Linked DNA regions of Homo sapiens: regions 1 and 2 are each linked to region 3. The links are contacts of gene promoters, found by promoter capture Hi-C in human tissues and cell types (Jung and others, 2019). All regions are on one chromosome and are shown on one strand. The core of a region is centred on a gene start or on the middle of the fragment in contact, and the rest is flanking DNA. Distances in the headings are between cores, read along the strand shown. Region 1 overlaps LALTOP (lung cancer associated lncRNA targeting TOP2A). Region 2 overlaps LALTOP (lung cancer associated lncRNA targeting TOP2A). Region 3 holds the start of PXDN (peroxidasin).

Region 1 (4,539 bases), core at 604-3,103, 170 kb before region 3:
TTCTATGTTATCTCAGCCAGCTCGAACTGCAATAACAAAACACCACAGATGGGCGGCTTAAACAGCAGACATGCATTTCTCTGAGTCTGGAGGTTGGAGGTCCAAGATCCAGGTATGAGGCAATTCTAAGTCTGGTGGGGGCTCCATTCCTGGCTTGACGACAGCGGTGCCTTCTCACTGTGTCCTCACGTGGTGGAGAGAGTGCAGCCCTGCCATCTCCTCCCCTTCTTCTAAGGACACCAGTCCTATTGGATCAAAGCCCCACCCTCATGGCCCCCTTGGACCTGATTTACTTCCTTAGAACCCTTTCCCCAAATGCAGTCATCCTGGGGTTTGGGATGTCAATGTGTGGATTCTGGGGAGACAGTTCGGTTTATAGTGGACAGACATTTTTTCTTAGAAATCTAAGAAAAGAAAACCCTCCCCTGCCTTCCCACTCCCAGGAGAGGAGCCAGCAGGGGTGAGGCCACCCAGCCCCAGCACACGTCCTGCAGAAGCTGGGGTCCCATGGGCTCTCCCTGGAGAGACAGAGAGCTGTCCACACTTGGCAGCCCCAGTCCACACCCTAAGGATGCTGTCTCCACACCTGAGCCGCCCACTGTCCTGCCCCCACCCACCGTGCAAGGTTTCACATGTCCCGACCTCCCCTTTCTGGCTCTCCTCCCAGCGTCCTCTCTTAAACTTGCAATCTGCAGGTCGTAGGGGTGACGAGTTATGAACCAATCTCAGAAGAGAGACAGGCAGGGTCACACTTGGGTGGCAGCAGACCACCACCTGCAGAGACCAGGTGGCAGGTCCTTCTGGGAGGTGTGGGACGCACCACCAGGGGCTTAGGGCATTCCACCTACAAGGTTCTTAGACCCTTATTCATACATGGGGGACGGGCACAGTATTTCTACAGCAATCCACACTTCTGAATTGCCACTGATTTCGCCAATGAAAATTAGTTTCAACATATATTATGTCAATTAACAAACTCAACTGCAGGCAGACCACGATGGCAGAGGCTGATGGGCCTGTGGTGGCCACTGTGGGGTGAGGCTGCCAGGCCTGGGGAAGAGCTCCCTGACAGTACATTGTGTGTGAGCTGACCTTCCCCCAGGTGTGCTTTACAACCAAAGACGTGTGTTGTATGTGTCCGTATGCACACACACGCACACAACATCACAGGGATGGACACAAGGTCACAGATGATAAAACCTGCTTCAATGGGGATGTCAGAGAACAATTAGAAAACCAAAACCGTCCTGCAGCTAGTCATCACGCCAATCTGTAATAGACAATACATGATCGTTATGTTAATTACTTTCAGGGGTTAGTGTCAATGTCTTTCTAACTTTCGGCCTCAATGTAGACATAGCTCAGCTGTGTCTACACAGCTGGGCAAGTCCTCCTAGCACCCTGACTTTGAGCTTTCCCTTAGGGGCTCAGAGCTGTCTTTGCCTCTGAGTCCTTTTTTCTTCTCTCAATCTCCTGTGTGGACTTGAGTCCTGCAAATGATCAAAGCTGGAAGGTCCAGTCTGGAGTCACTGCAGAGTATGTTGCTCATGCTTCCCCGAGAATTATTTCATAATTGCATTTGCAGTGACCAAGAAGGGGAGGAAACAACAGCTCGGACAATTCAAGCTTCAAGAATCTCACCCCTGGGAGAGGAGTCATTCCTCCACCCACACTGGCCCACGCCCCGCCCCAGTGGATTTTCCTGCTGGGAAAACAGACCACTTTGCAAGTTGTTCCTTGGATATTGGAGGTCGGAGGAGGATGGCGAAGACTCTGTACGTAACTAGATGTCCTTAGTTCTTAGACGACCACAGTGACTCAACCGCCCTCTGCCTCCTGAAGGGCAAGGCTAAGAAGTAAAACAAAACAAAGTAAAAAGCATGCGGGGAGTGCCCTGTCCAGAACCCCCCATGAATGTCTACACTATGAGGTAGATTCTCTGCCCAGGAAGGGCCCACGACTTGCTGCCCTTCTCCATGCCAATCTGCACTTTGAGATCACCAAGAGAAATACTGACTATCCCAAGACAGATTCAACTGCCAAAGTGAATGGTGTGGACCGCCAAATAAGGTTAAAGGAGACCTCCCAGCCCTGTGCCAAGGACGGGGCACTTCCTCAGGAAGCTGGTTCCCCTCATCCTCTCAACTTCCACTCTTCTCTCCAGAGCCTGGGTACCTTGAAAGGCATTGATTAAAATAGTTACAGCAGTCTTGCAAGAAAGTATGGTTAAGAAGTGTAGGATGCCTTATCATATAAGTGAAATTAACCAATGTGCTCAAACTAAACACAGGCATTACAAAGACAGTCAATATTAACACAATGGAAATTGCACTTAGGGTCCAGACTTACACATACAGAGCTAGAAATGATGAGTGGTTATCTGTGAACTTAAAATACACAAAAGCATGATATTTGCCCAATAAGTTGGTGCAATTACACATTGCAAAGAAAATATGTTTAAAGGGGTTATAATAAGGAAGCAGAAAAAAGCCCAAGTTTGTTTTTTTGTATTTAGATTCAAAAATATTCAGTGAAACAACAAATATCCTTAGGCAACAACCCTATCCAAGCAGAAGGCAAGCTGTGAGCCCGGCTCAGCGAGAAACACGTTGGAAGCTCCCCCTCCTCAAGACAATGGGGAAGTAAGATGCCAGCATACAAAACATTTTTCAAATTATCAAAACCAGAACATTTCAGATACAATAAAAGGTGGCATAAGTTGGAAAAGGATGATAGAGAATGGGGCAATCATTTTCAGTTGGAATGGAGAAGTTCTGACAGAAAAATGTGATATCTGATCTGACTCTGAAAAGGTGGATAGAGTGGGCAGAGTGTGGAAAGGTACAAACACCAGGAAAGTATTTCTGGGAGCAGAAAGGTGGATTCAAATACCTAGAAGTAAAGAGGAGTCAGGCTTATGGAAGACAGAAAATAAATTCAAACTACCAAGCAGCCAGCCAGGGGAACCACAGATGCAGCCGCCCAGATTGGCAAAGACAGAGGACAAGGCACTTTAGCCCCAACGAAAGTTGGTAGGAAAAAGCAACAAAACAAATACATGAAAAAGCAGGCAGGGGTCAGACCCAGAGCATTCTCCAGGCAGGTGGAGTCCTCTCTTCTGCTAGGTGAAGGGAGAGTGTGGTTGGGGGAGGCCGGACAAGACGGGAGATGATAGCAGGGCAGACAGGCGGTGAAGGGCAGTGGAGGAGGATGAGACAGGGGACCCTCTGTGAAGGGGAATCTGGAATACCCGACACACTGCAGCATGAGGGTGAGTTAGATAAGCGTCAAAATGCATCAGAAATGCCAAGTGTTCACGATCCGCTGGGGTATGTTAGAGCAGGTCTCATGGACAGGAGGAGGAAAGCCGTTGAGTGATATTGGATAAACATGGGTCTTCATCTGTGTGGGCAGTGGTAACAAAGTGCCCTAGACGAGGGCGTCTAGAAACAACAGACATTTATTGTTCACAGTTCTGGAGGCTGGAAGTCCAAGATCAAGGGGCTGCCAGGGTTGCTGAGAGATGAGGGCTCCATTTCCAGTTCACAGATGGTGCTTTCTCACTGTGTCCTCACCAATGGGGCAGGTGAGGGAGCTCTCGGGGTCCCTTCTACAAGGGTACTAACCCCATTTATGAGGGCTTCACCCTCATGACCCCATCACCTCCCAGAGGTCCCAACTTTTCATACTGCTACCTTGAGGGTTAGGTTTCAACATGAATTTGAGGGAGACACCAACATTCAGACCATAGCAATGTGAGAGGCTTTTCTAAGTTAGATACAATACAATTGGAAGGGAATAATATTATAAAAATCAGGCAAAGAAGCTAAGATTCTGGAATAAAAGGATGTCTGAATGTTTCATACACATATCTCCCTAGAAGACTTGAAGGCTTATCCTTCCAGGACACAGTTTTTCAGTTTATCTGGGGCTTTGGTCTCATGGGTCGATAAAGTTTGTGAAGGAATTAGAAGGGAAAAAATTTAAATAAAAATGAAGGGAGGACAATAGTTAAAGAAAAGTCACAAAGTTTAGGAAAGTCGGCTGAGATAAAGGGTACCTCTGACACTCGATGATGGGAAGGGACCAAATGCATGCGGGTTCCCTCGACCATCAGCACAGTTGCCTTGGACTAGCGGCCTGTGGTCAGTGGCCTGAATTCAAGGCTGCGAGACACAGATGGAGTGGGTGTGGTTCCTATCTGTCCAGATCAGTCAAAGTCGTGCACATGGTTCCTATCTGTCAGATCAATCATAGTTGTGGACATCCTCATGGGAAAATTCACCAGAAGTGAACATAGTGTGGAAACAACGGTGGCTGTTGTGGAGACAGCTCCTCACGGGGCCCCTGGGGTCTCTGTGCAGGCTGTGGGCAGAGGCACTGAGACCCACTGACCCGCCACTGTCTTTTCAAGTATGTTTGCTTAGTGTGCAGCCTTGGGAGACACAGATAGTGCTTCCCTCCGGAGAGGAAAAGGCAGGTCCACTCAGCATCCACTGTCATGATGTGTCCCTCCGGGGCAAAGGCCAGCCAGTCTCA
Region 2 (4,729 bases), core at 264-2,763, 190 kb before region 3:
TTCAAACATTACAAATTTTGCTCAATCCACATAGCTTCAATTTCTCTTTTCAAAGAGAAACTGTTTTCTTCCTGACCAAAATTTCAAATGGGACAAAAGGTTCTAGAAACTCTAATGAATAATTCAAAACAGAACCTTAACTTCAAAAAAAAATCAAAGTCTTGAATCTGGGGTCAGCAGAATCCCAGAAGAATAACAAACAAAACTCCAAGCTTGCAGTAGGTCTTCCAGCCCTATCGAGTTAGGAATTTGTGTGGCTCAAATAAAAGTCAGAACTTCAACAAGCTGGGAGGTTCGGACCCGAGAAGATCCTTCCCAGAGGTCCGTGTTGACTCCAGCGAGGTCCGGTGAACCCAAGCCATGTGTGCTGACAGCAAGGCTCTGGCTGTTGGTGATGTAATGGGGATCACTGGAGGCCCACTTCACATCCCTTTGTGGTTAGCAAAATGCCAATCGTCAATAATGAAATTTGGAAAAGATGATTCAGTATAGAGTTTATTTGAGTGCAAAGCTTGAGGGTCATCACCTTGGAAACACAGACTCTAGATGAATGGGCTCTGCTTTTAAAGTGAGAAGTTAAAGTTTCATTTTATAAGCAGAGACAGAAGTATGACAGGGCTACAGCCTGTTTCAAGGAGGTCACAGGTTAAATCTATTTCACTGGATTGCTCACAGCTTGCTGCATTCCAAGGAAACTCGCTTTAACTTTCCACAAGGAGGAGTAATCGTCTTGAGGGGCCTCATCTATGGTACCAGTCAGTCCTTTCTAATCATTTACAGGACAAGAATGAGGAAGAGATTTGACCCAGAATCAAAGAAGTTGCAGCTTCACACCTTGTGACTCAAGCCACACGGCCACATTCCTCTCAAGGTGCAAAATGATCTCAACTTACAACAGCTTCACATCTGAATTATTTCATTTCACAGGGACTTTATACCAAGGTTCTCCACGTTGCACAAAGATCACTACACCTTCCAAAACCCTGCTCAGGACGTCTTAGTCATGCATTCACAATGGGAACTGGAAGTAAAAAGCATTGAGACTGTTCCACTGACAATTGTTTTACTTCTTTTTTATCTTCATTAGCAGGCATCAGGCAACTTTAACCAACCTTCTAGGCAGTTGTCAGTGATCATTGTCATATTAAAGTGCATGTTATAGATTATAAATTACTTTCATGTTATTTTTCCTTTATCTTACACTTACTTACAGCATTATGTTGATTTTTAAACTATATGGAAAGGGAAGTTACATGAGCTATAAATTCCCCATTACATGGTCAAGCCGCATTACAAAAGACTTGCTATATTAGAAGAGGGCAGTGGAAAGTCTTGCTTAAAATCTTAGTGTTAAAATTCTCACTAAAATGTAAGTCACTGAGAGTATCTCTCTCTTTGCCTCAGAATAAGCTGTGATGAGAGACATAGAAATAAGAGGGGTAAGTTTGGGGGTTGCACAAACAACGCTTGCTGAAGTTTTACACCCTCCCCTGAGCCCTGGGCATGGAGCTGGGGTCATGCCAGGTGGCTTTCTGGATATCATCACTTCTTCCTCGCAGAAGCCGCATTGTATGTGTATGCATATATATGTATGTGTGATGCGTGTGTGTGGTGTGTGGTGAATGTGTGTGTTCTATGGGTGTGCATGTATGATGTCTGTGTGAAGATTTGGGTTTAGAAGTCACTCCAGGCAGAAGCAGGAGGTCGGAACAATAACCACATTTTGCAGCGATTTCACAGGAAGGTTTCAAACCCACAAGGATTTCTCCTCAGCCCTGAGAGCATGAAATTAAACCGAACATTGCAGCTGAGACGAGGGGGACTCCGTTCTCTTTGCAGCGAGGGAAGGGGCCAGCACTCCAGGAAAGAGCTGCCCATGGACAGCGTCACCCAACAAAGTCTCCCATTCTGTACACAAGAACCTGTCATATCATCCTATACTGAGAGCCGTATACAAAGTCTCCCATTCTGTACGCAAGAACCCCTCACACATCATCCTATACTGAGAGCTGTATACGAAGTCTCCCATTGTGTACACAAAAACCCCTCATATCATCCTATACTGAGAGCTGTATACAAAGTCTCCCATTCTGTACGCAAAAACCCGTCATATCATCCTATACTGAGAGCTGTATACAAAGTCCCCCATTCTGTACACAAAAACCCGTCATATCATCCTATACTGAGAGCTGTATACAAAGTCTCCCATTGTGTACACAAAAACCCCTCATATCATCCTATACTGAGAGCTGTATACAAAGTCCCCCATTCTGTACACAAAAACCCGTCATATCATCCTATACTGAGAGCTGTATACAAAGTCTCCCATTCTGTATGCAAAAACCCGTCATATCATCCTATACTGAGAGCTGTATACAAAGTCTCCCATTCTGTACACAAAAACCCATCATATCATCCTATACTGAGAGCTGTATACAAAGTCTCCCATTGTGTACACAAAAACCCCTCATATCATCCTATACTGAAAGCTGTATACAAAGTCTCCCATTCTGTACACAAAAACCCGTCACATCATCCTATACTGAGAGCCATATACAAAGTCTCCCATTCTGTACACAAAAACCCGTCACATCATCCTATACTGAGAGCCGTATACAAAGTCTCCTATTGTGTATGCAAGAACCCGTCATATCATCCTATACTGAGAGCTGTATACAAAGTCTCCCATTCTGTACGCAAGAACCCGTCATATCATCCTATACTGAGAGCTGTATACAAAGTCTCCCATTGTGTACACAAAAACCCCTCATATCATCCTATACTGAGAGCTGTATACAAAGTCTCCCATTGTGTATGCAAGAACCCGTCATATCATCCTATACTGAGAGCTGTATACAAAGTCTCCCATTGTGTACACAAAAACCCCTCACATCATCCTATACTAAGAACTGTATATTAATTCCCTATTTCTCAGCCTCTGCTGGTGAAGTTTCTGCCTCTTACTTCAGAAGTCCAAGTGGTGAAGAGCCCTTGGCCCACAGGTCTCAGGGTGGTAGGAACGAAAAGGCCGCTCTGAGTCTGCAAACAGAACCTCCCTATTGTCTCTCAGAGCCATCAGGTGCCACCGGCACAGGAGTCTCTACTTACGTGAGACACAGAGGGGAGGCTCCCTCTAACTTCCAACAGGAATGCAAAATGTGCCAGGCCGGGCACGATGGCACACGCCTGTGGTCCCAGCTACTTGGGAATCTGAGGCGGGGGATCTCCTGGACCCAGTGGCTTGAAGCTGCAGTGATCCATGATTGTACCACCACACTCCAGCGTGGACAACAGAGTGAGACCTTACTTCTTAAAAAATATATATTAAACTAAATCTATGAATTACCAGGCTTGTCTAATTTCTAAGTATGAAAAGCAAAACATAAGGAAATTTTGCAGCTCGTTTCATGACTTGTTGCCTTCTTTCCTTCTAACTTGGTGTGTCATCTGAAAGAGGGCAAGGTGGAGGAGTTCTTGCCCCAGGAACATGTCATCAAGCTCTCGGCTGGTGCAGGCGGTCCATGACATTGTGTTCCCAAGTCCTCCCTGCTCAGAGCGTGACCTTGGCTGGTCCCAGTGACTCACATGCTGCTGGTTTCCATGGCAGCCAGACCCATCACTCAGAGCAACGCAGGTTGACTCAGCCCTGGTCTGTCCAAGTCTAAATTTCCTCTCCTGTAAAATGGGAATAACCTGCCTCCAATGGTGAGAATGAGGTGGGGTCGGCCAGGCAGGCAGGGAGCACAGTGAACACTGCCTGCCTTTACGTAACCCGCGAGGCCATCCCCAGTGGGGCCCAAGGCATCACAAAGGCCCCTGCTTGCAGGATGCTCAGAGTTCTCTGCTGTCTCCACAGCTGGCATCCAGCCTCACAGACACCCTCAGCCCAGATGAGGTCCTCAGTGTCCCCATGCTGAGAGTCACAGGCAGATGCCAGCAGGACCCGGCCTGCCTCTTCCTCAGGGGAGGCCTGGACGAGGCTTCTGGGTCAGGACGTGACCCTGGATGGGGCACCAGGCAGCTGCAGTGAGTGGCCAGGACTCAGGCTGTGGGGGCCTCCCTGCCCTGCGTGGGGGTGGGGTGGGGCCAAGGAAGCCCCAGGCCTTCAATTTAGGATTTGCTTCATCAAACGGATCAATTCAGGCTGAAGATAAGCAGCCTCAAAACTCTCTCCCTGGAGAGCCAGTGGAGCTTCCTGTTGGAACTCAGTCCCGTGGGACCCTTCCGGGCAGATGGTGGGGGAGGCTGTGCCCATCCCTGCCACACCTGGCCCCCATCGTGTCCCTCCATGCACCGCAGACATGTTCTCCTGCTGACCTCCACCCTGCAGACGGGCCCGGGTCTCCCCCTGACTGTGTGGGACACAGAGGGGCTCTGCCGACCCCGGGGAAGGAAAGAACGGGAGGAATGTGAAGTGCTCGCAGGACTCAGCACAGCCGCCTGGGCCCAGCCTCTCCTCCTGCAGGCCAGGACAGCTGAGTGAGATCCCCCAAGGCCCCTTCCTGTCTCAAATTTCTTCAATTTTTACAATTAAAGGAAGAGAAGAAGAAAGACGTGCTCTCCTCTCTCATGCCCATGGCTTGATGACATTTTCTTCTAAACACTGAAGATCCTCAGGTAGCTGGGATTCTGTGGCTGCTCCGAAACCCCGGCACACGGGTCCATTTTCCCAGGCCAGTGAGTCCTGGCTCCCCACTCCTGCCTCCTTCCGGTCTTCTCCCCACTCCTG
Region 3 (4,845 bases), core at 2,146-4,645:
GGGCCTAGCTCCAGTGTGTCCAGCCAGCACCCTAGCGGCGTGACCGTGAAGAAGAATGTTTCAAATGTGACCTCCCCAAAAAGCCTGGGGTTGAGAGGAGGAAAGGAAGGGGCGTACAACGGCATACTTTATCTTTAATACTAGCTTTGAACTACCATTGTGATGAACTTCTATTGTGTTGGGTACAGAATGATTCTGTATTCAAAAACCAACCATTTCTACACAGCTGAACTAAGTAAGGCCTCCAGAGGGGAGGCGCTCTGCAGGAGACCCAACAGCAAGGCCAAACCGCCGACCGAGCAGCACAGGGCGCGGGCTCCTGCCATTCCAGAGCTCCCTTCACACTTGCAGCTGAGGGAGCTCAAAGGTCGATCCAAACTGAGTCATGGATGGGCTTATTCCACTGTTTTCCAAAGCCCCCAAGCCACAAATCAAACAACCCAGTATCAGACCCGCTTAAACACACTCCTGGAGCATTTGAGGGGAAGGAGCAATAAGATGTTTTCCAATGGCTCTGATTTAATCTTTTGGGGGACTGGGATGGAGGTGAGTCTCTAAAAGCAAAGGGACGGTGTGATGGTTGGATGAGCCAACTAACTTTGGGGCAGGTTTTTTTTTAAATTTTCATATATAGTATATTCCCAATTTCTACCAAAAAATTGTAATAGAAAATAATCACATATACATGAGAGCACAGTCCTGGGAGAAAGCCGAAAGTGGACATGAAATGTTGCTTCACGTGTAGCATGTATCATGTAGAACTGTGTCATCTCAAGCAACAGCCTACCAGACCATGCCCCCAGAGACCCCTCAACAGGATATCCCCGCAGAATAGGTCTCCCTCTTCCCTCAGTCCCTGCCTCCCCAGGCTGCACTCACTAGCGCTCGCTCATGACACCTGTCCACTGTGCCTAGGTCCGCACAGCTACACCCTCACGTTCTCCCAGGAGACACGGGACTTGCTAAAAATCACGCGGCTGCAATGCATCCAGCCAGGACTCCATTCTGGCCACCAGCGCTACGCTCCTCCTCTTGGCCACAGGAATAGCGTCAGGAGCTGCGCTTCTCTCCCAGAGCTTCTGTTTCCACCGCCAGAAAATGGGTATGTTCATTTCTCCAGTAAAGTGTTTAGTTCTATAAGGGATTCGATCAACTTAACAGCTACCAGTCTACCTGCCTCACAGAATCAACGTGACTCAACAGCGACATTTCGAAGTATCACTGAAGACTGCAAAAACCCCTGAAAGTTTAAGATAGAAATGGATGCAAATGTACCCTATGAGGAAGTGTTGTGCGAGTGGACGATGATGTCACCCGTCTACTCTCAGCTCCTTTTTCAAATTCGGTGAGGCGTTTGTGGACGAGCACACCATGCAAAGCGGAGCAGAGGACCCCATGTGTGTCCTACGACACTTATTTTAACATGTTATTTTCAACAAGCAATTAATATTCCGGGGCAAAACATACCGCAAGCTTTATGAAACTGACCAGATGGGAAAAATCTTTGAGGTGCCATTTTTCCACTGGCTCAGCAAGAATTACATTATCCAGACCCAGGGAAACCTCACCCGGCTCCATTCTAAAAGTCCACTGCTGTTGAGTGAGATGCCCCCGAGTCGTCCGGCCTGGGCTGACCATTCACGGGCTCTGGAAAGAAAGCCTTGGTCTCTCTGCGGAGGAGGAGAGGAACTCGGGCCCCCGCCCCGCCCCAGGGCCTCCAGGAAGCAGCCTGCAAACTCGGCGACCCCTGGGAGCCGTGGTCTGTCCCAGCACTTTGTTTCGGAGGTAGGCGCACTGGCCGCCCACTTCCTGAATTGTTCACTCAATTTTTTTACAACTTTTGCAGACTCTTTGCTGGTGCCAAAAAGTCCTCTGGCTCAGCTAAGAAACGTGAAAACTATTTTTGGCATGCAGAAAAGTCGCTACAGGACTAAATTAGAGTCGGCGCCTGAAACGCAGCCCGCGTTCACAGATCCCGAAAATGTTGAATCCGACTCGCTTCAGAACACAGGAGGCCTGCAGCGAACTCTGGCGGCATCTCGGTACCTGGAGCCGCGGGGCGGAGGGATGGGGATTCCTGCTGTGGAGACCGTGACGCGGGACGGCCCGCAGGACAGGGTGTCAACCCCAACGCAACGCATCCGGTTAAACGTATAGCGCAACTGCGAACACGCTCGCGTGGATTAGAAGCGAAAGAAGAGAAATGCCCGAGGCAGAAACCCGCTCTGAGTCCCGGCTCCATCTAGACCCGGGCTGCCCCGAGACTACCGCGCGGCCCCTCTCGGGAACCCCGGCCGCCCGGCTCGCTCCGGGCGCAGGAAAAGCCCCTGAGAAGCGCGGGGCCCCCAGGACACCCCAGGAGAGGACGCTCCGGGCAGATGCGGGGGCACTGGGAGCGGGGGCGCCGCGGCTGCGGGAACTGAGGCTCCTCTGGGGAGGCTTCCCCGGCGCGGGGGGATGGGGTGGGCACTGCGCTCCAAGGGGCGGGGGAGGGGGAGAGGGCGGAGGCTGGGGGAGGAGAAGGAAGGGGGGGAGGAGGAGGGGAAGGGAGGAGGAGGAGGAAGGGGAGGAGGAGGAGGAAGGGGAGGAGGAGGAGGAAGGGGAGGAGGAAGAGGAGCGGAGGAGGGGAGCGAACAGGACGAGGAACGGGGCGGAGGGGGCTGGGAGGACGGAGGGGGCTGCGCCGCGCTCGGGGAGCGGAGGGGGACCGAGGGGTCCTGAGCGGGGGAAAGGTGAGCGGAGGAGGGGCCGCGAACCAGGGGGAAGCGGGAGGCCGGCGGAGCATGAGAGGGGGCGGCGGGAGGCGAGCGGGGGGAGCCCCGGAGGCTCCAACAACTTCCCAGTCCTGCGGGGATTCCGAGTTCCGAACAAAGGCGGCTACGAAGGCCGCGCGCACAGCGCTCTGTTCCGCCCCTCGGCGTCTCCCGCAGGGCGAACAAAGGCCCAGCGGGTCCCCGCGCCCAGGTCCCCCCACGTCCCCCTTCGGAGGTTCCCTTCTGCGTCCCAAGTCCCCAGGCCCCCCGCGCGCCCGATGCCCCCTCCACCCTCCGCGCCCCCCACCTCCGATCACCCCTGCGCTCCCGGATCTCCACGAAGCCCCGGACCCCGCGCCCCCGGCGTCCCCCGCGGCACTCACAGGATGGAGGTCTGCGGCGCCACGGCGGGCACGGCCTCCAGCAGCAGATGCATGCAGCGCACGGTGGTGCGGAAGCACAGGCAGCGGCTCGGACACCCTGCGCCCGGCTTCTGGGCCACCACGGCCAGCGTCCCCCAGGCGCAGAACAGCACGAGCGCCAACAGGCAGCGGCGCCCGGGGCCCCTGGAGCGCTTGGCCATGGCCGACGGCGCGGACGGACGCTCGGACGCACGGAGCCACCACGGCCGGCTCCCGACTGCGCCCGCCCGGCCGCGGCCCACGTCCCAGCTGTGCGCGGGGGGCGGGGGGCGCCAGCTGTGCACATGCGCGAGGCTCCTCCCGGCCCCTCTGAATCCCCGAGGGCGGGGCGGGGCGAGAACCCGGGGCCCCAGCGTCCGGCCTGAGCGCCCTCATCCCGGTGGGGCGGCCCGCATGGCCAAGGCGAGCGCTCGGGGGCGCGGAGGAGAGCATTGGCACCCCTGATTCTGCGCTCGAGACTCGGGGCTCGGGACCCTGGGGCCTACGCGAAGCTTCTCCACTTCTCTTACCCGTGGTTTCTGCCTGCGCTCACTACGGGTTTTTTAGTTGGCGCCTTAATGTTTGTAACACTTTTAGAGCGCTTGCTCTGATCCGGGCACGATTCCAGGCGCGCAGGCGCGCTCCTCTCTTTCTCCTTCTCCCTACCCGCAACCACGTAGGAAATTATTTAACGTTCCAAAAAAGCCCCTCATTCCTTTTGAGGAAACTGAGGCCCAAGCCCCAAAGCGCACAGCAAGGGAGTCTGCGGGAAGATTAGACCCAGGCGGTCCGGCTCCCCGGGGCCTGTCAGCCACCTGCTCTCTGCCGGCCGCCTGGCTCAGCACAGTTGGGAAAATGAAAGGTCCTGTGTGGAGTCCTTGGCGCGGCGCAATGCAGCCCCCGGGATTCTCGCGGCCTTCAGTGCGTGCCCTCCTGGGACAGACCTAGGAGGAGACCCAGGGAACCCCCCCCCCCCACGTCGGGTGTGTCTAGAGACAGCAGAAGACTTTGGAAAGGAGGGAAGACACTGCGTGAGATACGCACAAAGGTGGCGTTCTCACATAGTTCATACATTCTCTCCAATCATCTCACAAGGACCCAGTCTGAATTTCACAGACAAGGAAGGTGAGGCCAAGTTGCTGAACCCAGGCCACAGGGTGACGGTGCCAGATTCAGAGGCACAGCATGGGCGTGTTCCCGTCGCAAACCCCAAGTCTCAGCTGTGTCCCCGTGCTGGTGTTCTAGCCTGAGCTGCGTTTGAAAGCAGCCTGGAATGGGATTGGTGGGTAATAGGCTAGTTTCCTGTTGCTATGTTAAAACACAAAAGCAACTACCACGAGACATAGCCCGGAGGTCACAGGTGCATTGCTGACCACAGGGCACCATCTAAGGACTGGACCCCCGAGGCTGCTGGCAGGGGGTTCCAGTTCCTTGCCGTGTGGGTCTCCATGGCCTGCACACTGGACATGGCCTGATGCCTCCCAGAGCAGGTATTAGAAGAAAGAGGAAGAGAATGAGAGTACAACACAGAAGCCAGGGTAAAACCTAACCCAGCCTTGGAACTGGCCCCGCATCACACCTGCGGGGTGCATCCTCAGAGGTCGGTGGCTCCCGCTGACATTCCAGATGCCATCTTTCCTGCAGGATTTTATCCACCCTCTACAGCGGATGCAGCTCACACTCCGGATTCC

Evidence for each region. Contacts are between HindIII fragments. The study calls those that stand out against the background at their distance.
Region 1: a contact is called between a fragment that was not itself captured here and the fragment with the promoter of PXDN in region 3, in 1 of the 25 tissues and cell types used here (mesendoderm cells).
Region 2: a contact is called between a fragment that was not itself captured here and the fragment with the promoter of PXDN in region 3, in 8 of the 25 tissues and cell types used here (H1 embryonic stem cells, IMR-90 fibroblasts, adrenal gland and 5 more).

The regions. Positions count from the first base shown.
Region 1 is chr2:1,571,149-1,575,687 of GRCh38, forward strand. The region is part of intron 4 of LALTOP (lung cancer associated lncRNA targeting TOP2A); the gene reads right to left. Among named protein-coding and RNA genes, the nearest start is that of LALTOP, 52 kb to the right of the region's middle. RefSeq lists an enhancer at 1,026-1,527. The HindIII fragment of the contact is 6,127 bases long and covers 1-4,539 here.
Region 2 is chr2:1,553,390-1,558,118 of GRCh38, forward strand. The region is part of intron 4 of LALTOP (lung cancer associated lncRNA targeting TOP2A); the gene reads right to left. LOC102723730 (a long non-coding RNA gene) reads left to right here. Exons shown (of 3, transcript NR_168373.1): 3 at 781-1,166. Among named protein-coding and RNA genes, the nearest start is that of LALTOP, 70 kb to the right of the region's middle. The HindIII fragment of the contact is 7,991 bases long and covers 1-4,729 here.
Region 3 is chr2:1,741,120-1,745,964 of GRCh38, forward strand. It overlaps PXDN (peroxidasin), which reads right to left and starts at 3,396. Exons shown (of 23, transcript NM_012293.3): 1 at 3,137-3,396. The coding sequence starts at 3,336. The HindIII fragment of the contact is 6,203 bases long and covers 2,570-4,845 here.